Linked DNA regions of Homo sapiens: all the other regions are linked to region 7. The links are contacts of gene promoters, found by promoter capture Hi-C in blood cells and fetal thymus (Javierre and others, 2016). All regions are on one chromosome and are shown on one strand. The core of a region is centred on a gene start or on the middle of the fragment in contact, and the rest is flanking DNA. Distances in the headings are between cores, read along the strand shown. Region 1 overlaps SLC25A13 (solute carrier family 25 member 13). Region 2 overlaps SLC25A13 (solute carrier family 25 member 13). Region 3 holds the start of SLC25A13 (solute carrier family 25 member 13). Region 4 overlaps LOC105375410 (a long non-coding RNA gene). Region 5 overlaps SLC25A13 (solute carrier family 25 member 13). Region 6 has its middle 110 kb from the start of SLC25A13. Region 7 holds the start of DLX6 (distal-less homeobox 6).

What was found. Contacts are between HindIII fragments. The CHiCAGO score rates a contact against its expected background, and 5 or more counts as called.
Region 1: a contact is called between a fragment that was not itself captured here and the fragment with the promoter of DLX6 in region 7, in 1 of 17 cell types (naive CD4 T cells). The highest score is 5.1, in naive CD4 T cells.
Region 2: a fragment that was not itself captured here is called in contact with the fragment with the promoter of DLX6 in region 7 in 1 of 17 cell types (total CD8 T cells); the score reaches 5.7 in total CD8 T cells.
Region 3: a contact is called between the fragment with the promoter of SLC25A13 here and the fragment with the promoter of DLX6 in region 7, in 1 of 17 cell types (endothelial precursors). The highest score is 5.4, in endothelial precursors.
Region 4: a fragment that was not itself captured here is called in contact with the fragment with the promoter of DLX6 in region 7 in 3 of 17 cell types (M0 macrophages, M2 macrophages and M1 macrophages); the score reaches 8.4 in M0 macrophages.
Region 5: a contact is called between a fragment that was not itself captured here and the fragment with the promoter of DLX6 in region 7, in 1 of 17 cell types (naive CD4 T cells). The highest score is 5.2, in naive CD4 T cells.
Region 6: a contact is called between a fragment that was not itself captured here and the fragment with the promoter of DLX6 in region 7, in 2 of 17 cell types (M2 macrophages and M1 macrophages). The highest score is 5.4, in M2 macrophages.

The regions. Positions count from the first base shown.
Region 1 is chr7:96,233,514-96,236,213 of GRCh38, reverse strand. It overlaps SLC25A13 (solute carrier family 25 member 13), which reads left to right. Exons shown (of 18, transcript NM_014251.3): 4 at 1,297-1,412. Among named protein-coding and RNA genes, the nearest start is that of MIR591, 15 kb to the right of the region's middle. The HindIII fragment of the contact is 2,113 bases long and covers 374-2,486 here.
Region 2 is chr7:96,173,737-96,176,436 of GRCh38, reverse strand. All of the region lies in intron 11 of SLC25A13 (solute carrier family 25 member 13), which reads left to right. Among named protein-coding and RNA genes, the nearest start is that of MIR591, 45 kb to the left of the region's middle. The HindIII fragment of the contact is 3,254 bases long and covers 1-2,700 here.
Region 3 is chr7:96,320,756-96,323,455 of GRCh38, reverse strand. SLC25A13 (solute carrier family 25 member 13) reads left to right here and starts at 1,358. Exons shown (of 18, transcript NM_014251.3): 1 at 1,358-1,514. The coding sequence starts at 1,500. RefSeq lists a silencer at 1,223-1,562. The HindIII fragment of the contact is 9,010 bases long and covers 1-2,700 here.
Region 4 is chr7:96,411,484-96,414,183 of GRCh38, reverse strand. All of the region lies in intron 3 of LOC105375410 (a long non-coding RNA gene), which reads right to left. Among named protein-coding and RNA genes, the nearest start is that of SLC25A13, 91 kb to the right of the region's middle. The HindIII fragment of the contact is 2,197 bases long and covers 239-2,435 here.
Region 5 is chr7:96,209,691-96,212,390 of GRCh38, reverse strand. The region is part of intron 4 of SLC25A13 (solute carrier family 25 member 13); the gene reads left to right. Among named protein-coding and RNA genes, the nearest start is that of MIR591, 8.7 kb to the left of the region's middle. The HindIII fragment of the contact is 2,726 bases long and covers 1-2,613 here.
Region 6 is chr7:96,432,656-96,435,534 of GRCh38, reverse strand. It overlaps a transcript of LOC105375410 not described here. Among named protein-coding and RNA genes, the nearest start is that of SLC25A13, 110 kb to the right of the region's middle. The HindIII fragment of the contact is 1,485 bases long and covers 609-2,093 here.
Region 7 is chr7:97,004,162-97,006,861 of GRCh38, reverse strand. DLX6 (distal-less homeobox 6) reads right to left here and starts at 1,309. Exons shown (of 3, transcript NM_005222.4): 1 at 449-1,309. The coding sequence starts at 884. All of the region lies in intron 1 of DLX6-AS1 (DLX6 antisense RNA 1), which reads left to right. RefSeq lists a silencer at 459-558 and an enhancer at 1,871-2,592. The HindIII fragment of the contact is 12,379 bases long and covers 1-2,700 here.

The sequences.
Region 1 (2,700 bases), core at 181-2,680, 770 kb after region 7:
TGTTTTGGATGGTTAATGATACAGAGATGCTATATTGAACACACTGCGTTTTTCCTTTCTTTGTAGCATTATTGTAATTGGGTGACATTCTGGGAAACAGCTAAGTTCACTTTGTAACAGTTTTTATAAAAATGTGTTCTCTCTATAGGATGTTTAGAAGTAACTAAGTTTTCTGTAAAATATATGAAAACCATTCCTATTTTCTTCCTCCTTCCATATCCTCCGGAAACTTGGAGTATCTCAATGTATCATTAAAGTATTTGGATACTTAAAATAGCAGTTGTTAAAAAATAAAATCTAGGAAAGCTTTTATGGACCCATTTCCTCTTTGGAAGTCAAAACGTCCTTGGCCTCTCATGTTCTTCCTAAAGCTTAGATTTGACCCACATTTTGACCTTCGGAAAGTTAAAGTCACTCCTTTTTCCTAGAGAAGAATGACCAGGCCCTTTTCTTTCTTCAAGGCCACCTCTGGTCCTATATTTCTAATCTTATTTTACATTGTTCTTTTATGCACTCCACTGTCCAGACAAAATCTGTCACTCATCAGTTTCCCTGTACACTCCTTAGCTTTCTTGCATTAGCCTTCTGCCTGAAGTGCCCTCTAGTCTACACCCATTACCGCATATCCAAGTTGTACTCATTTTTTAAGGCCTAGCTCAAATGCCATTTCTGCCACAAAGACTTTTATTACCATACTAGTTCTTGTGTTATGATTTGTCCTTCCTCTATACACTAGTCTGTTTCTAGACCAGTGCTGTCTGCCTCACTAGACTAGAAGTCCCTTGGGGTCATGTTTCATGTATCATTTATCTGTATTCCCCTTGTACTAGCCCTAGGTCAATTCACAGGTGGTCAGTAAATACCAGTAGTGAATCAATATCTGTGAACCGTTTTTTGCATGGTGTATAAGGATACTAATGCATAACAAAGTTGCTCTATTTTGCTGTTAGGCAGTCACATCTTAGTCTAAAGTATCTGCACTTTTATTATAGAACCCAAAAACATGCCTGAAGGAAGACTGAAACATATATGATGCTGGATAAAACAGTTATATTTGAAATTATAATGTATTTAGTGTGTAACTTCATGGTCAATGCTGTCATGTCTTTTAGATTCTGTGCATTATTATTTCAGTCCACTATATGTAAAAGTAAATGCTAAATGTTTATAAATGTTTTCAGTTTGAATTTTATGTTTTGGCAGTGATATCTTATTTTTTCCCTCAGTGTATGTTTGTATATGCTTCTGTTTTCCACAAGCTACTGACTTTTGCTTTATGTTTGTTTTATGTTGCAGATTAATATCTTTTCAAGAATTTGTTGCCTTTGAATCTGTCCTGTGTGCCCCTGATGCTTTGTTTATGGTAGCCTTTCAGCTGTTTGACAAAGCTGGCAAAGGAGAAGTAACTTTTGGTAAGAAGCATGCTTCTGTGCACGTCTGTGTAAGTGTGGACTTGTGTGAGCATTTTCTTTTTTTTTTTTCTAGGAACAAAATAAAGTGTATGGAAATTCTTTATAGAAGATAGTATATCCCTTTTAGTAAAGATACTTCAATGTTTTGGAGCTCCAGTTCAAACATCTTCCTATTCGAAAAAAACAAGTTTCTGGCTTAGTAGTTTTGATACTCTGATTTAGTTTTAAGGTGAGGGAGATGTGGCATGACTGTTTTCATAGAGTCATAGCATGTGAGAGCCAGACAGGACTTCTGTTTCTTCCCTGCATCATCAGTAGTGCTTTCCACTGATAGAACGAAGAAGTGAATAATCTGCCTACACACAGAAGTTACTTATGCACCCTATACTTCTTGTCTTCACGTTGTTCCCATGGAGTAGTTTGCGGCCAGAGCTGCTGCACAAGATGGTGGTTCAGAATGGTACATGAAGGACCTTGTTCTAAACAACCCCCGCTCCCCCGACCTGACTGCTGTGCTGGCAGTGTCTGCTCTCCTGTGGCCTTCTTTATTTTGCAAGGCACAAACATCATCATGGGAATTAGCTACAAAGCTGCAGAAAACCCTGATGTTTTTCAAATTCTTAGAAGAAAGGGAAGGCTTGGAAGTGGTGGGACAGTGGTAAGTTATTTTTTAAAAAACTGGCTACTAAGGACAGATTTAACGGAAAGTACCATGTTTCCCTTGGACTCTGTGGTGTCCAGCATATGTTGTCTCTGCATGCAAATCTGCAGTAGCATTGCTCATGAAGAATTTTGGAGCCCTTTAGGCATGTGGATTGTGCTTTCATGAGAGATGGCTTTAAAGATTAGGGAGAATGTGGCATGACTGTTTTCATAGCGTCATAGAACGTGAGACCCAGACAGGACTTCTGCCTGTCTTGTGCTTGGCATGTGCCCATTTTAAGTGTCTCTATTCATAGTTTCTAATTCATTCAGACCTTTGGGACTTGTCTTATTTGATGTATTGTGGAAAACATACAGATATGGGAAAAATACAGATGGTGTAACAGTGTTGCTTCCAGAATCAGATAAGCTTAGCCCCTTCCAGCTCTGCTGCTGTTGTCTCTGAGCCAAATTAGTGATCCTCTCCAGTCCTCATTTATCTTATCAAGAAGTGAATATAATAATTAGATAAAGTATTGGTAAGATAGTATAATAGATTTATTGTGCCAACCCCCTTCGCCATTCCGTCATACTCATTTGGCATGACAGAATTAAAGGTTAAATCATCTTGAGCAAAGACAAAAAA
Region 2 (2,700 bases), core at 152-2,651, 830 kb after region 7:
AACTAAAAGGAGAAGATTGGAAAACTAACCACACTAATAAATTTCTTTTGAGGCAGTTGGAAAATGGACTGCTGTTTTGACAAGTTAGAAACAACACACACATCCATTCTCTGTTTCAAATGGTTAAAGTGAATTTCCAGGACCCAACAGAAACATCTTATATTAGAAACCTGATTTTTCTGCTGAATTACCCAGATGTCAGATATATATGCACTTTAGACTTAATTGTGGTTGTGATGAAGTGCCTCACCTAGACTCTCTGCTTTAGGCATTACTGGGCTGTGCTACCTCTCCTCCCTCTGAGGTCAAGGTACAAGGAGGGAGTTTGGAATTCCCACCTCTTTGACTTTTCATTGTTTCACAGATCATGACCTTCTTACAAAGACCATTTACCCAAGACTCATGTTTTCAAGGCCCACATCTGTAGTGGGCCTCAGATTATAATCCAGTCACCTTCATTTTCCTGTTTAACCAGACAAGGTAGTCACTACAAGAATGGTTCTTATCAACAACTTCCGTGAGTGGCAGCATCTGGCCTAGGTCTTAGGAATGGATTTGTGCTTTGGTTTTATTCTAAGTTGAAGTTAATCATTTAATATAAGGAAGCTCGGGGCCTCTAATATATTACCTTAAACTCCTAGTTTCTCTAGCTTCCTCAGGTCTCTGCTCTTGCAAACTATCCTTCACCTGCCTCTAGAACTTTTTACTTTTTGAACTTTACTTTTTACCCTAAAAGCCACCCCATGCATCTACAGAATTTGGTGCATGCTCCTTAGTGGGCCTGGGAGAGAAGTTGTGCAGCGTACCAGGTAAGAGCACAGGCTGGAGTCGGACAGCCTGGGTGGAACCCCGTTCCCCCATCAAACAGCTGAGCCACCATGGGCAGCTCCCTTAAAGTCGGCCTCAGTTTCTTCTTCAGTTGCTGTGGATAAAACAAAAGCCACTGTTTAAGTAAGGTATTGTGTGGATTAAATGTGTTCATTCACATAAAACACACAGTACTGTAGTATGTGGATATAGCGAGTGCTCCCCAAATATTGGCTGTTGTCATTATCACTACTATTAATAATATTGTTATTTATTATCTGGTCTTCTGTGATCCAAGCACAGCCTCCAGTGCCCTGACTCCATGCCATAGCCTTAAGATGTTGGTGCCTTTGCACACCAACTGTTTCCTCTGCCTGGGTCACCTTGCCCTCCATTCTGCTCATTGTCTCATCTTTCCGGGGAACCTCTGCTCACCCTTGAAGTCCCAGGGCAAATATCTCCTCTTCTTTGATGTTTTTTCCCCTCCTGCAGGCAGAAGAACTGGTTCTCTCCACTGGGTTCTCATAGTCCTGTGATGCCCCTGGGGTCTGGTATGCAGCACCTGCTGTTGTTAGGTGGTTTGTCCCCCATCTGGCAGGTGGAGACAACTAGCGTTCCCTTTCCCTCTAAACTCTGAGCTTCTTAGCGGGGAGGCACCAGTCTCACTGTGTTCATCCCAGTTCCTCTCAGTACCAGGCAGACAGAGAAGGCATTTGGTAAATGTTTGCTGAACAAATAGCTACTTGTTGCCTTCTTTGTAGTCTTAAATACGGGGTTTTCCCTTCTGTTTTTTGCCGTTCACAATGCATTACTAAATTTATGGTGAGAAGGATAAATTTCAGTAGTTTGAAAGGCTGGCTGAAGTGATTGTATCTAACACAGTAGTCATTAGGCTCTGTGGCCTGTTTTTTTATTAGTCATTTAAAAAGACTGTCACAGGATAGTTATGGAGACAAGAGTTCATCATTTAAATCACAGTGCTTTCAACCCATCCACAATTTTGGTCTACAATTTAATGATGAGAAAAATACATCTAGCAAGTAAATGTTTAACTAAGCATTTTGTTACTTGATGTGAATACAGGGAGAAAGATGAAAATTTCAATTGTGAAGAGGTAGTTTAAACAGGCGTATGCCCACATATTACTAGTAGAAATTAATGTTGTACTTTTATTAGGTAATAACCAAGCCTTCTCCTATTATAGATATCTTACTGAAAGATCAGTGAGTGAGTGTCATGAGTATAGTTTAGGAGAGAATGCTTGCTTTGGATAAGAATGCTTGCTTTGCCCAAATGGTTGCATATTCCCGTTTTTTCTCATATGCTGCCTCAGCTCATTTAAATTCTAAAGAGCACAGCCCCACTCAAGCTAGCAAGAGCTTAGGGGGGCTTTTGATAAACATTCACACAAGAGAGAAAGAAGGTAGAAATCTCAGATCCAAGAGCAGGAGCTGCACTGGAGGCTGGCCTCAGTGGGACCCAAAGGTGATGGGGACAGGCGCTCCCACCTGTGTGCCTTTCATGGGCTATGTGCATTCTCTTTTTAATCTCTATTCCTTTTGCTCCACATTCTCATCTGTCCACCAATGCACTTCCTCTGCTTATTCATGGTTTCTGCTTCCTTGTGATATTAGCACACACGTGACTTCCAATTGGCTGCTTTCCTTGCTCCACCCATGACATCTTTTCATCTTGTTGCTTCTGTGCTAACTTGTCCCCTCTTCTCTAAAGACTGTCAGTCATCCTCCTGGAGAAGGCATCCTAATTGGCCAGCTCTATTTTTGGTAGCAGGCTCAGGTTGCTGAACTCTTGATTTGCGTGTCTTTTAGGTGTTTTACATTGTCCAGTCAGCTGTGGCCCTGGGGATGAAGCAGGCTTAGATGTTATAGTTGC
Region 3 (2,700 bases), core at 109-2,608, 680 kb after region 7:
TAAATTGTAGTTCCCATAATCCCCACATGTCATGGGAAGGACCCGGTGAGAGACAACGGAATCATGGGGGCGGTTACTCCCATGCTGTTCTTGTGATAGTGAGTTCTTATGAGATCTGATGGTTTTACAAGGGGCTTTCCCCCCTTTGCTTGGCACTCATTCTCTCTCCTGCAACCCTGTAAAGAGGTGCCTTCCACCACAACTGTAAGTTTCCTGAGGTCTCCCAAACCATGCGAAACTGAGTCAATTAAATCTTTTGGTTTATAAATTACCCAGTCTCAGGTATTTCTTCATAGTGGCATGAGAATTCTCAGTATTCTTATTGAGCCCTGGGAACAGTCTGCTGCCTTAACAGGTTATACTGAAGTAAACATTTATGTGTCTCTTTCCCAATAGCCCTGAAGCTGTTTAACGGTTGGAACCAGTTCTTAAGTCATTTCGGGGTTTCCAGCACCAAGCACAGTGCCTAGCACATAGTAGGAAGGCACTCAATCAACGTTAATGAATTAAACTGATTAGTAATAAGTGCTTTTTGCTGCCATATTACATCCACAACCTACAATACATTAAAAGTCCTTTTCCCTGATCACCACTGTCTTATAAATTTTGATTACAAGGACAGAAGAATGAAATCCTGATGAAGAGGAGTAAGGCCTGGAGGTCATATAAGCAAATTTTCATTAAAATGCTTGTTTATTTATTTTAGTAGGGCCTATTTGGGGGAAGTCTTTTGACCCGGGCCTTTTGACTTCTACCGTTTTAACAGGTAGGGCTGAAATGGAGTAGTTTCATGAATATACGTTCTGCACTACATTCACTTGTTGGGTTCTTAAGAGTTCACCGATTTTGATCTAAAAGTAGGCGTGCCAGCAATATTTGCAATCTCGCCTTCTAAGTCAATGCTTTTGGATCAAAGTCTTTTTGGATCCAGTGTAAAGTGGAGCTCCTTCAAAGGGAACGCACAGGGGAAAAAATATCCAGCAAAGTATGTGTCCTAGTGGAGTTCTCAACTTCCCCAGGCCGTGCACCATCTGTCGTTACTTGCCCCTCCCATCGGTCCGAGGGCCCAGTAGCCCCTGGTATCAGCAGAAGCCAGCAGCTTCCCTGGTGGGGCCACCTGCCCTCAGGTGACGGGCTTGCACACGGCCAAGTTACCTCTGCCCACGCCGCAGAGGCCGCCGCTGCTGGACAGCGCAGCGGGGTCACGTGTCCCTGTCCAGCCACTGCCCCAGGATCTGAGCCCTCCCCGGCTGCAGGGCAGAGGCCGCTGGATCACGCGCACCCCGGCGGCCAAGGCTGGGCCCAGCCAATGGGCGGGCAGCATCCACATGACCCGCGCCGGCGGGAGGGCGTGGGGAGGCAGGCCAGGAACGCACGCTGCCTGGCCGTATCGCCGCCCCCACCGCCGCCGCCGCCGGGACTAGAAGTGAGCCGCCCGGGTCCCAAACGCCAGCCAGCCAGTCAGTGGGTCCCGCAGTCGCCCGCAACCGGGGCGAATCATGGCGGCCGCCAAGGTAACCGCGGGCCCGAGGCCGGGGGGAGCGCGCCTGCCGGATCAGCCTGGGGGTGCGAGAGGCTCGGGCGCTCACGTGTCTGGGTTGGTGCCACAGGCGGAGCAAAATGGGGTGCCGGGCAGCCGTTCCACCTTGCGGCTGCTGGAGGGAGGGGGCCACTCCTCCCGGGCAGCACAGGCGGTCGGTGCAGAGACCGAGGCCCGACCTCGCAGCGGAAACTTTGTGGGCCGGACACTCCCACTTGGCCGGGGAGGGAAGTTGGTGCCTGACGGGGCTGAGCCAGGGCCGACGAGGAGGAGCGGGCGCGACTGGGGCCTGGTGCACCCTGGGCCGGCAAGCGCTGGGGGTCCTCTCTACCTTCCCAGCGCGCTCCTGCTCCTGACCCCGCTGGTTGTTGACTCCGGCTTCTTCCAGGGGCCAGAGCCCGGGCTGAAGCCTGATCCTATTACGTTTCAAGGGCTCCGCCCTCCCGCGGGTGGGGAAGTTACTTTGACTTCCGTTTTGGAAACTGCCTAGGAGACTTGGTCTGCGCCTTTGTGAATAAAAAGTCCAGGGACTCTCCCCCTCCCCGCTTTCCCATCATTCCCATCTTCCCCCTCCCTCTCTCCATCTGACAACACTTAGATACCCGCCTCGGAGCATTTGAGAGGCTTCTTTTTGGGAACGATGAAACAGATTGTCCTGGGAGCCTGTCACTCCTGTGAAGTTGTACTTGAAAGGGGTTCTGTGTAATGTGAATCATTCACTAACCCAGAGGAAAGGCAACTCCAACACTTGACCTTTCCTCTTTCACCATTTCTTGAAACCTGGACACCATTTCAGTCTCTTTGGACTGCATTTCAACTTCTCTGGCAGAATACCATATTTAGTCCCAATCACTTGAATCATTTGGAATTTATTGCTTTTAATTTAAGTTCACGAAGGCAGCCCTCTAATCAAGCCTATACAACTTCTTAGCTCATTTTAAGTGCAGTGAACTTAAATATACCTAACATTTCAAACATTTGTCCTTAATCAAAACTCTGTGATAACCCTCAAGAGGAAAACATGGCCAACACATCATATTCCTATTTATTCAAGCAAACTAATCACATTTGCAATGGAAATTGTAAGCAGACAAATATATTTAAATGCTGTTCTATGACTTAAGTCTCTCCAGGCTCCCCAAATCCGTAGGCTTCTTCAT
Region 4 (2,700 bases), core at 88-2,587, 590 kb after region 7:
ATCACCAGGAAGAGAAAATAAATAATATTATTAAGGAACCAAGAGACCTCTCTGTAGCTGTTGGGAAAATTAAGGAAAGTAGAAACTGAGCCCTATGTATTCATTATTAGAACAAACATTCTCCTCAGTGGAGATTATCGTCAGGATGACAGGTGATCACTAGTGGCCCAGGGCTTTCTAACAGTCCAATGAGGCAAAGCCCAAAGTACAGTCACAAACTCAAGGGACTGAAAAAGCTTTTGGAATCCCCTCATTCATCTCTCTTTTTTAAGCAAAGCCAAACCAACCCACACCAATTATACCAATCTCATCGTTTAAAATTGTCTAGGGAAATGAGTTTATATATTTTGTTGTAGTCCCATCCTAGTAGTTAAAATGTACACATCATCAAAAAGTTTTTTCTAATGCTAATTTAAAGCCCCAGATTAAACTTAAACCTGTATCCCAGGAGGTGGAGAAGGGGAGAGGAGGTGGAGTAAGGAGAGAGAGCAATAATTAATCAATTTCTTCCTTATAATAGCATGTGTTTTCTTGAAGCCCAAGTCTAATTCTATTTATAAATATTTCTTTCCCATTATAAGCAATTCCAGATTGATAGGTTGTTTCAAGTGAGCCATAGTCTCTTCAGTTTTTCATTAAATGTGTTAATAACTCACAGTGCATGTATCTACAGTCACAAAGCAACTTCTTGGGCTTTATCTGTTGTCTTTTACATGTATTCAGTAGAGAATGATGGGTGGTTTGAATATTTGTGGGTAGCTATTCGTGAATATGTTTACTGACTTCCATCATTAAAAGAGTCACAAGTTTCAAGTTAAACTGGAAGTCCTTGGTTTATATTTCCAATTTCTGCAAAGCATATAAAATTTTGAGGTAATGACAGCAGTGTTTCTAGAAATAAGAAACAGTCACCCACGTATCTCAAACAGTGTTTATTACATAGAACAGTTTCTGCTGAAACTACCCCTACCATATTTCATAGAATTCGTTTTCCTCCTTGCCTGGAGTGTCTGTGTCCCAGAATCTGGAATAGCAACTGTATCATCCATGCTGACTCCTGCCTGCAACCTTAACTTTTTAGAGATCAAACTGGCCCGTTGTCTGTGCTGTCACCACAAGTGACAGACCAGCCTTGTGCAGTGCTGTACATCAATTTTCAGTACAAAAATAATAGTACTTCTTCCTTAGCTGCTTGAGTAAAATCAAAGTGAGGGTCTTAAACAACTTAATTTCATCCTTCAGGGGCAAGTCATTCTTGAGCCTACTGTAACTGAAGAGGGATAGGTTGTGGTGTAATTGTTTCCTGCTTAACCATTTTACTGCTATACATCAATTTTACTCTACTTTTGTCTGTATCCAATCATATTTTCAAATATAAGTCATGTGAATATTTAAAGCCCCCTAAAAATGGGACAGAGGAAATTATTCCCAATGAACAAGGATAAGGGATCTGTATTCCTTGAATTTTAAAATAGTCGTGAATCTTAGAAACCCACTATTCCAGCTGGGAATCCAATTACGTGGCTGTCTAAACATTTTTCTTCAAGGAGTCTTTCTAGTCAATAACTATTCTTTCAGAGCATTCAGTTTGGGCCTTTACCAACAAAGACCAAGCATTTTAAAGTCAATAAACAAGGATTTATAATAGGCAGTGCCATTCTGATTTCTAGTAGAACCCAAAACCCTCTCTGTATTTCCATGCCAGATAACACATTTTACTAATATAGATTGTACCAACCTTTCTGATGGCCAATATTAAAAATTAAAATGTGTGTATAATTTGACTAAGGTGTTCACTTTAAGGAATATCATCAATAGAAATTATTGGATGCATACACTAAAATATTTGCACATAGATGTTCATCACATTGTTGTTTATAAAAGTGAATCTTGGCTGGGTGCTGTGGCTCACGCCTGTAACCCCAGCACTCTGGGAGCCCAAGGCGGGCAGATCACAAGGTCAAGAGATTGAGACCATCCTAGCCAACATTGTGAAATCCTGTCTCTACTAACAATACAAAAAAAAAAAAAAATTAGCTGGGTGTAGTGGTACACACCTGTAGTCCCAGCTACTCTGGAGACTGAGGCAGGAGAATCGCTTGAACCTGGGAGGCAGAGGTTGCAGTGAGCTGAGATTGCGCCACTGCACTCCAGCCTAGTGACAGAGTGAGACTCCGTCTCAAAAAAAAAATTATAAAATCTATTTTTCTCTATGAATAATAATAATGTGTGTATTTTCACTATCTATATAGTTACACAAGCTATGAAGCCATTTTTTCAAATGTATGAGCCATTTTTTAACGGTTTTTTTTTTAGTAAAGTGAAAGCAAGTTTATTAAGGAGGTAAAGGAATAAATGAATGGCTACTCAATAGGCAAAGCAGCTCAAAAATGGTTTTCTATTACGGTAAAGAGAGTATATGCATAGAGAAAGCTTCAAAGAAATATGTCAAAATGTTAACAGCAGTTATTTGTGGCTAGGACTACAGGTGAATTTATCCTTCTACTTTATATGTTGTGTGTTTTTTTTTTTAATTTTGTTTTGTTTTGTTTTGTTTTTTTCAGACAGAGTCTCGCTCTGTCACCCAGGCTGGAGTACAGTGGCATGATCTCGACTCATTGCAACCTCTGTCCCCTGGGTTCAAGCAATTCTCCTGCCTCAGCCTCTCTAGTAGCTAGGATTACAGGCGTGCACTACCAT
Region 5 (2,700 bases), core at 1-2,500, 790 kb after region 7:
TTAGACTTGGATGTAGCCTCATACCTTTTACTACCCTTCCTCTTCCCACAGGACCTAGTACAGTGCTCCCAAGCTGTGCTACTTAGAAGGTTGCTAGCTAGCTAGCTAAGCCCTGACATTCCTACAATAGCCAGTATATTGGAACAGCCACAAAGCTAATAATGGGCCTACATCCTCAGGGTCATGTGTTTGATACACTCCCCAACTCCAGGAGGCACCAGTCACATGGACCATGAAGTGAATGCCATCCACTAGAGTTGTGCAGCATGGGAGCCCTGAATGACCTAGGTCACACATGATCTGTGTTTACACATTCCTGCATTACACTGCTTGGTCTGGAGAGTCTTCTCTACCTCCTTCCTTTTAAATTTTTATCCATTTCAATGAGAAGTTAAAAATTAGGAGTGAATCTAACCCTTCCATACTCCCTGATAATGCTTTCAGAATGAGGTCCTGGACCCTTGCATCAGGAAAACCTGGAGTGCTGGCTAAAATGCAGTTTTTTCAGCCCCTCAACATGTTTAAATCAGTTTAGGACCGGGCCTGGGGATTTTGATAAACGATGTTGACTGATGATTTGTATGCAGTGCACTGAAGTGGTGAGAAATGACTGTTGAATAGTTTCTCAGCAAGGGAAACTGTAGTGCCCCAAAGGGTTAATACCGCTGTCCTTAACCTGTTGCATTATCTGTTGTAAACCTTTTCTGGCTCATTTAAATTCAGCAACTACTTAGTGAGCAGTTGCTCTCTGCCTACCACTGTGCCAGCCATAGTGGTAGAATCAGATGCGAAGAATGGGGTCTTTGCTGTGAAGGGGCTAATAATCAATTAGGAAATAAAAGACGTGCAATAAATATGCACAAACACATTAATATGTGCATACATATGCATACTATGTAATGATTTATATTACATCATATAGAGATCTTTTATATACATCTAGTATAGTATACTCTAGAAGATTTATAGAGAGATCTTTTTTCAAACAAATCATTATTGGTAGTACAGGCCTATAGGATTGTCAGATTTTAGATCTGAGAGATATCTTAGGGATAATGTATAGCTCTATCCTGCAGAGGAGATTTCAGTACATCAGCCAGGCATTTCATAGAGGCACACACACAGTCTATGGTGTAGTCCAAAAAACTATAGCGTTTAGAGTTTCGGATTCAAATGTGAGCTCTAGTAAGAAGTAAATGGTAGTTACTTTAATTATAGATAAATAAGATTGTTGTTTATGGTGAGACACATTTTACATGCATTCACTAATTTTAGAAAAACTTAAACCTACTTTCATGTATATTTATAATTTTAGACCATATAAATATAAAAATGGATAATAAGTGCCTTAGCTTTACATACCAGCTATTTAGTAAAAACCTTCTGTTACTTTCTATGGGAAACAGAGATTGAAGGAGAGATCAAGAAGGGGAAAAATCTTATTTTTGACAATTATCCTATGATTATTACGTTAAAACTTTATTTCACTGGAATGCTTGGCAGAAAGGAATTTTTAAGTTAACTGAGGATAAACCAGAAAACCATTTTTTCTTGCATATTATTTCTCTAAAATTTTATTCTAGTATAAAATTTTATTTACAGTGTGAATTTTTTTTCTTTTGGTCACATCTTTATCATTTGAGCATTATTTTCATTAGATAATTTATTCATCTAGATTAGAAGGTTATGGGAGCCTTTATTAAAACTTTATTGGGCCTGCTTCCTACAGAGATACAGACACTTACACCTGGAAAGGAGTCACAGATTATCTCGGTTAATATGTTTTGCACTGAAGAAAGTCATGTTTTAAGATATTAAGGGACTTACAGCCATTAGAACAATACTTGGCACATGGTGAGTGCCCAAGAAATTTTAGCTGCTGTTAGTAGAATTTGAATCCAAGTCATTTGAATTTCAGTTTGGTGATTTCTTCTCAGAAATCTTCTACTTAATTCCTTTTATTGACCCCTGGTCAGACTCACTGAGAATCTTTTTTGTTTGTTTGTTTTTCCTTTAAATCCTAATTCTGGATTCACTTCATTTTCCTTATATCTTATCTCTTTTTTCCCTAAAAGTAAAGAAGACAGAATAAATTCAGTACTTGTACTTTAAAACTTTTATTGTCCTCATCAGGGCCAGTCTGAGGATTTCTGCCATGTTTTATAAAATTTATGCCCAGCATAATCCTGATTTTTTACTGCCTTCTCTGTGCAAATACACACCTAACCTTATGCTAATGGTGGCACTACTGTTTCTTCATGACAAGGCTTTAAAAATTTCTGGAAACTTTAAAAACGTGGAATAAAAACTGTGGGTATAATGGGGGTGGGAGCAGGAAATTTGAGGGGAAACCATAGACACATTATGCCAAAGGTTTTGGCACTTTTCAGAGGACTAAATAACTTTCTTCTTCTTTTTTTGTTTTAAATAGAAGCAAAAGAGAAAAAAAGGTATCAAGCACAGTTTGCTCATAGAAATGAGCAGGTTTGGTAGATATATTTAAAGATGTGAAAGCCAGGAAAAATTATTAATATGCTAATAATTTGTATTTCCTCCATTCTCCAAACACATACTTTTATCAAGAGGAGGAGGCTAAAAATAAAAATAGAAGCTTTAGAAAAGTAAGGTTTTTCATGTTTTTTTCTTGTTTGTTTGTTTTTTCTCTGTCAGTCCTCTTACAGTTTTTCTGTAGAGGCTAAA
Region 6 (2,879 bases), core at 102-2,601, 570 kb after region 7:
AGATTCAGGGCAATCCCTATCAAAATACCAATGACATTCTTCATAGAAATAGAAAAAAAAATTCTAAGCTTCATGTGAAACCACAAAAAACCCTGAGTAGCCAAAACAATCTTGAGCAAAAGGAACAAAGCTGGAGGCATCACACTATGTGACTTCAAGATACACTACAAAACTATAGTAACCAAAACAGCATGGTTCTGGCATAAAAACAAACACATAACACATAGACCAACAGAACAGAATAGAAACCCAAAAATAAATCCATCCATTTACAGCCAACTGATTTTCAACAAAGGTTCCAAGAACACACATTGAGGAAAAGACAGCGTCTTCAATAAATGGTGCTAGGGAAACAGAATATACAAATGCAAAAAAAAAAAGAAAAAAGAAAAAGAAAATAGACCCCCATCTCTCACCATGTACAAAAAATCAACTCAAAATGGATTAAGGCTTAAATACAATACCTGAAATTATGAAACTACTATATGAAAATGTAAGGGAACTATTTCATGACATTAGTCTGGGCAAGGACTTTTTGGATAGAACTTCAAAAGCACAGACAACAAAAGCAAAAATAGACAAATGGGATTGCATCAAACTAAAAAGCTTCTGTACAGCAAATGAAACAATTAACAGAGTGAAGAGACAATGTACAGAATGGGAGAAAATATTTGCGAACTATGCACCTGGCAAGGGGTTAATATCCATAATACATAAGGAATTCAAACAACTTAATAGCAAAGAAACCAAATAATCCAATTTTAAAATGGGCAAAAGATTTGAATAGACATTTCTCAAAAGAAGATATAGAATGACCAACAAACATATACAAAATGCCCAACATCACTAACCATCAGGAAAATGCAAATCAAAACCACGGTGAAATACCACTTTGCACCCACTAGGATAGCTATAATTTCAAAAAATAAAAATAACAATTCCTCTTGTGGAGGTGGAGAAATTGAAACTTTTATATGTTGCGAGGGAATGCAACATGGTTCAGCTATTGCAGAAAACACTTTTGTGATTCCTCAAAACATGAAACATAGAATTACCATTTGACCCAGCATTTTCACTTCTGGGTATATATCAAAAAGAATTGAAAACTGCATAAATGTACATGCATGTTCATAGGGGAACTTTTGAAAAAAGCCAAATTTCCATCAACTCATGAATGGGCAGACAAAATGTGGTATACGCATACAGGGGAATATGACTCAGCCAGAAAAAATGAAGTGCTGATAGATGCTACATCAATGAATCTATAAAGCATTATGTTAAATGAAAGAAGCCAGACACAAAAGATCACATATTGTATGATTCCATTTATATGAAATATTATATATTCAGAATAGGTAAATTCGTAGCAACAGAAAGCAGATTGGTAGTTGCCAGCAACTGGTGGGGGGACAGGAATGGGGAGCAACTGCCAAATGGGTACAGGGTTTTCCTTTGGGATAATTCCGTCTGATGGAAATGTTTTAGAACTAGGTAAATGTGGCAGTTGCACAACACTGTGAAAATACTAAGTGCCACTGTTCATTTTTAAATGGTAAATTTTATGTTATATGAATCTCATTTCAGAAAAAATGGAAACAAAATTATCATCTCCATAAGATATTAGCATTACAGCCTTTCCTAATTAATTTGTCCTATTTTATACTCTCACAGTGTATGTTCCCGCCATCATGCCATGTTATCCCATGTGTTCTACTTTGTTTCAATACACATCTACTACAGAGGTCAGTAAACTATGTCCTGCAGGCCAAATTTGGCCCACTGCTTGTTTTTGTGTGGCCCACAAACTAAGAATTGTTTTTTACATTTTAAATGGTTGAAAAAAGTTAAAACAAGAATAATAGTTTGTGAGACATGAAAATAGTTTGACACTTAAGTTTCAGTGTCCACTCAGAAAGCTGTATTAGTTTATGGTTACTGTCATTCTCTTACAACATACTGTCTACGCTTGCTTTCATTCTACAGTACCAGCTCTGAGTACAGAGATTACATGGCCTGCAAAGCAAAAAATATTCACCATCTGCCCCTTTACAAAAAATGTTGTTGACCCCTGATGTACTCGATCATAATAAGCTTTAAGTAGAAGTAATCTCTCACAGCACCCAGCCTGATGATTTGTACATTCTAGAGAGTTGATAAATGTCTCTTGCATAAATACCTCTGTAAAGTTTTTACTATTCAAATGCATGCCACAGGATTTCTGCTTCTATATGCTAATAAAATTGAAAGCACTAATTTCTTTGTATTTTTACAAAGTTTGACACCTCGTTTGATATTTGGCACATGAATTCTACAAAAGACTTTTTTAAACAGAAACTCCAAGCTGCAATGAGAATACATCATACCCAAAAGGAGAAGTAATTTTACAGTCTTTTTAAAAATATGAAATAGATGCTTATGTTGAAATCTTGAAAATCACACTAATGTGCCATTCAAACTTTAAACGTCAGTACATAAAACTATGTTAGTTTTCTAGCACAAAAATAAATGAAGGATTAAAAAGTTCTGATCCCTAGCATTGCCTTTCTGGAGGATAGATTCAGAACTAGTGTGACAATAGTCTTTAAAAATTTCTAAAATTAATATTTAATTTATTAGAACAAACAGAATTCTATAATCCATTTTACAAAGTGAGTTACCACGTATGTTCAAGAAAATGTAGGTAAAGATGTAAATACTAAACATTATTGGAGTAGATTGTGGGGAGAAAAGAGGCAAAAAAAAAAAGAAACATAAAGATTAGGTTTTTATCTTGATTGTAAATGATAAATTATCCAGAATCTTGGTAAGACAAAAATGATACTAAGCAGCAATCACTTATGTTTCTTAAACATTTTTTTAGCAAAATTATTCTTTGACTC
Region 7 (2,700 bases), core at 60-2,559:
GGCGCCCCACGCAAAGTAGGCCACTGCCTGCCCAGCGTGGGCTGGGAAGCAAAACACGCTCCCCAGTTCCGGCCCAGAAATGTCCCCAGCCGGGTCAAACGTGGGTTACAGCCTGGAGGGAAGGAGCAAGGAAAAGGGCGCACAGACCCAGGAGGCTGGAGAGCGCAGTGTGGACTAACTCGTCGAACGAAGCCTGCGCCGGGCCCGGGACTCAGCCCGAACTGCGCGTCGGAAGCTGAGGGTCCGCGGCGGCGGGAAGGGGCCCGGCTGGGAGAGGCCGGCAGGCAGGCGCCAGGCGAGCGGGCGCGCACGGGGCCCGGCCAAGGGCGCGCGGGGCCGCCTGGGGGAGGGGGCCGGCGGAGGCCCGGGCGTCGAGGAAGTGAGCGGGCGGGCGGGGTAGGGGGCAGTCGGGAGGCGGGAGAAGCGAGCTGCCCCAGCGGCCTCTCACCTGTGTCGTCCCCTCGCGTCTGGGCGGCTGCGCTGCTGTTGTGGTAGGACTGGAGGTAAGGGCTGTGCTGCGAGTGGCTCATGTAGGGGTAGGCGGCGAGCGAGCGGTGGTTGTAGGAGTTCCCTCCGCCCGACGCGTAGGGCGAGCCGTGGTGGTGGTGCTGGTGGTGGTGGTGGTGGTGCGAGCCGGCCGCTGCCGCCGCCGCCGCCGAGTGCAGGCAGTGCAGAGGGTAGTGCGCGCCTGCCATGGCCGGGGAGCTCTGCTGCGAGTGCGGCTGCGGCGGCGGCGGCGGCGGCGGCGGCGGCTGTTGCTGTTGCTGCTGCTGCTGCTGCTGCTGTTGCTGCTGCTGCTGCTGCTGCTGCCCGAACTCCATGAAGGCGGATTTGGACGAGTCCTGGCCTTCCAAGCCGTCAGCCATCGTAGTCATGGTCATCATCAAAAACTTTGGGGGCTGGAGAAAGCCTTCTCCCGGGTTTCCTCCACCCTCCCCCACTTGGCTCGCGCCGCTCTCCCCTCTGCAGCCACCTTAGCTCTTTGGATCCTTGCAAAAAAAAAAAAAAAAAAAAAAAAGAATTTAAAGAGGGGGGTGGAGGTGGTTCTCCCTCTCCCTCGCTCTTCTCTAATATATATATATATTTAATATAAAGAGATATAGTGAGCGGGGCCTTGTTAACTCAAAGGGAGGAGGAAGGAGGAGGGATGGGAGAGGAGAGGGGGAGGGGGGAATCTGCTCTCCCCCCGCCTGCTTTCCCCCCTTGGATTTTTTGGGGGCTGGTGCAGTTTAAGGCAGAGATTTTAAGGTGGATTCTGCGAAAGTTGCGCGTCTGCTTTCAGACTTGATGCAGACGCCACGAGTCGAATGGTTTGTCTCCAAAGGGCAGTGCCTCCCCATTGGTCAGTCGCCCCCTGACGTCACAGGCGCACGGCTTCTACTGGCGTGTGCGCGACTTGCAGAGTTCTTCGCCTACCTTCCGCAGTTCCAATCCCAGCCGGAGCTGCAGCCGGGGGCCGCGCTGTGTGGCGCCCGGGGCCGTTGGGGAGGGAGGCGCCTCTGCCCGGCCGGCCGCCGATGCTTCCCGCCGCAGCTCGTGCCCCAAATCCCGGAGCCCCAGTTGCCAATATCTCAGCCTTGAAACAGCCAACTGGGGGCTGCTCTCTTTCAATCCCTTTGCACCCTTGTAGGTTGCCTGTGCTTAGAAGCAGTGACCCCACCCCCGCATTAAATCCAGGCCCCCCTTTCTTGACGTCCCTGCCACTCTGGTCCTACTACACTCTTGTGGGAGCTCCTTGTCACCGTGGATTTTTCTAGACGTATTTTATTGAAACCACAGAAGGAAGACGAACCCTCACACCTGGGCTCCACCCCACTGGGGGGTGGTACAGAAAAAGAAAAATCAGACCCTGTTCTGGCTCGGTCCCTGCCGTTTCAGGCCGTATTTCTTATATATTGTACAAAAGGTTGTGGGGGGGGGGGGCGTCTTTTTTTTCTTTTCAGAACGCAGCAGCGTGTTCTGAAAACGAATCGTTGGAGGACTGACAGTAATGCATTTTTTCCTATTGAAAACAGAAGCTACTGTAATGCTTTCAAATATATGCAAATGATACATGCGGTTAGTGGTTTGGCAAATCTTGATTACAATATAAACTACCCAAGTAAAAGTGCCTTCGTCCTAAATTTGTCTCTCGATTACAATTCCAATTGATTTTATTTTATTGTCAACATTGTTAATGATAAAAATAGAGTCGTTTTACAGTTATTTTTACTTTCTGGAAGGAGGCAATTAGAGTTCTAATCAGGAATACACAAAAATCTCCCATGATTAACTGCAGTACTTTGTTCAAATTGCTGCTATAAAATTCAGAACAATTTGCCTGTAATGATTATGGACTGGGTTTATTTTGGGAGGTGGAATAAAAGTGGATATAGCATAAATTATCCTCTAATTATACACCAGTGTCGCCTCAATTATCCTCTTATCAAAATGGTTGTCTAACTGCCGCATTTAGTTTCAATTCTCTCCTTTTTTTCTATAAAAAGAACTTCATACCTTGTTATTATTAATCCATTTATTATTTGCAAGGGGATTTATATCCGCACATCCAGGTGGTAGAACCACTTCTCTTTCAAAGATGGACTGGGGAAAGACATTAAGTTCGGAGCAGCCCAAGGCTGCGGATCTAGCCTTTCTCCCTCCGGTCTCCAGACCCACGCAGGTTAAGGCAGCCAAGCAGAGACAGCGGAGCCCCGGTGC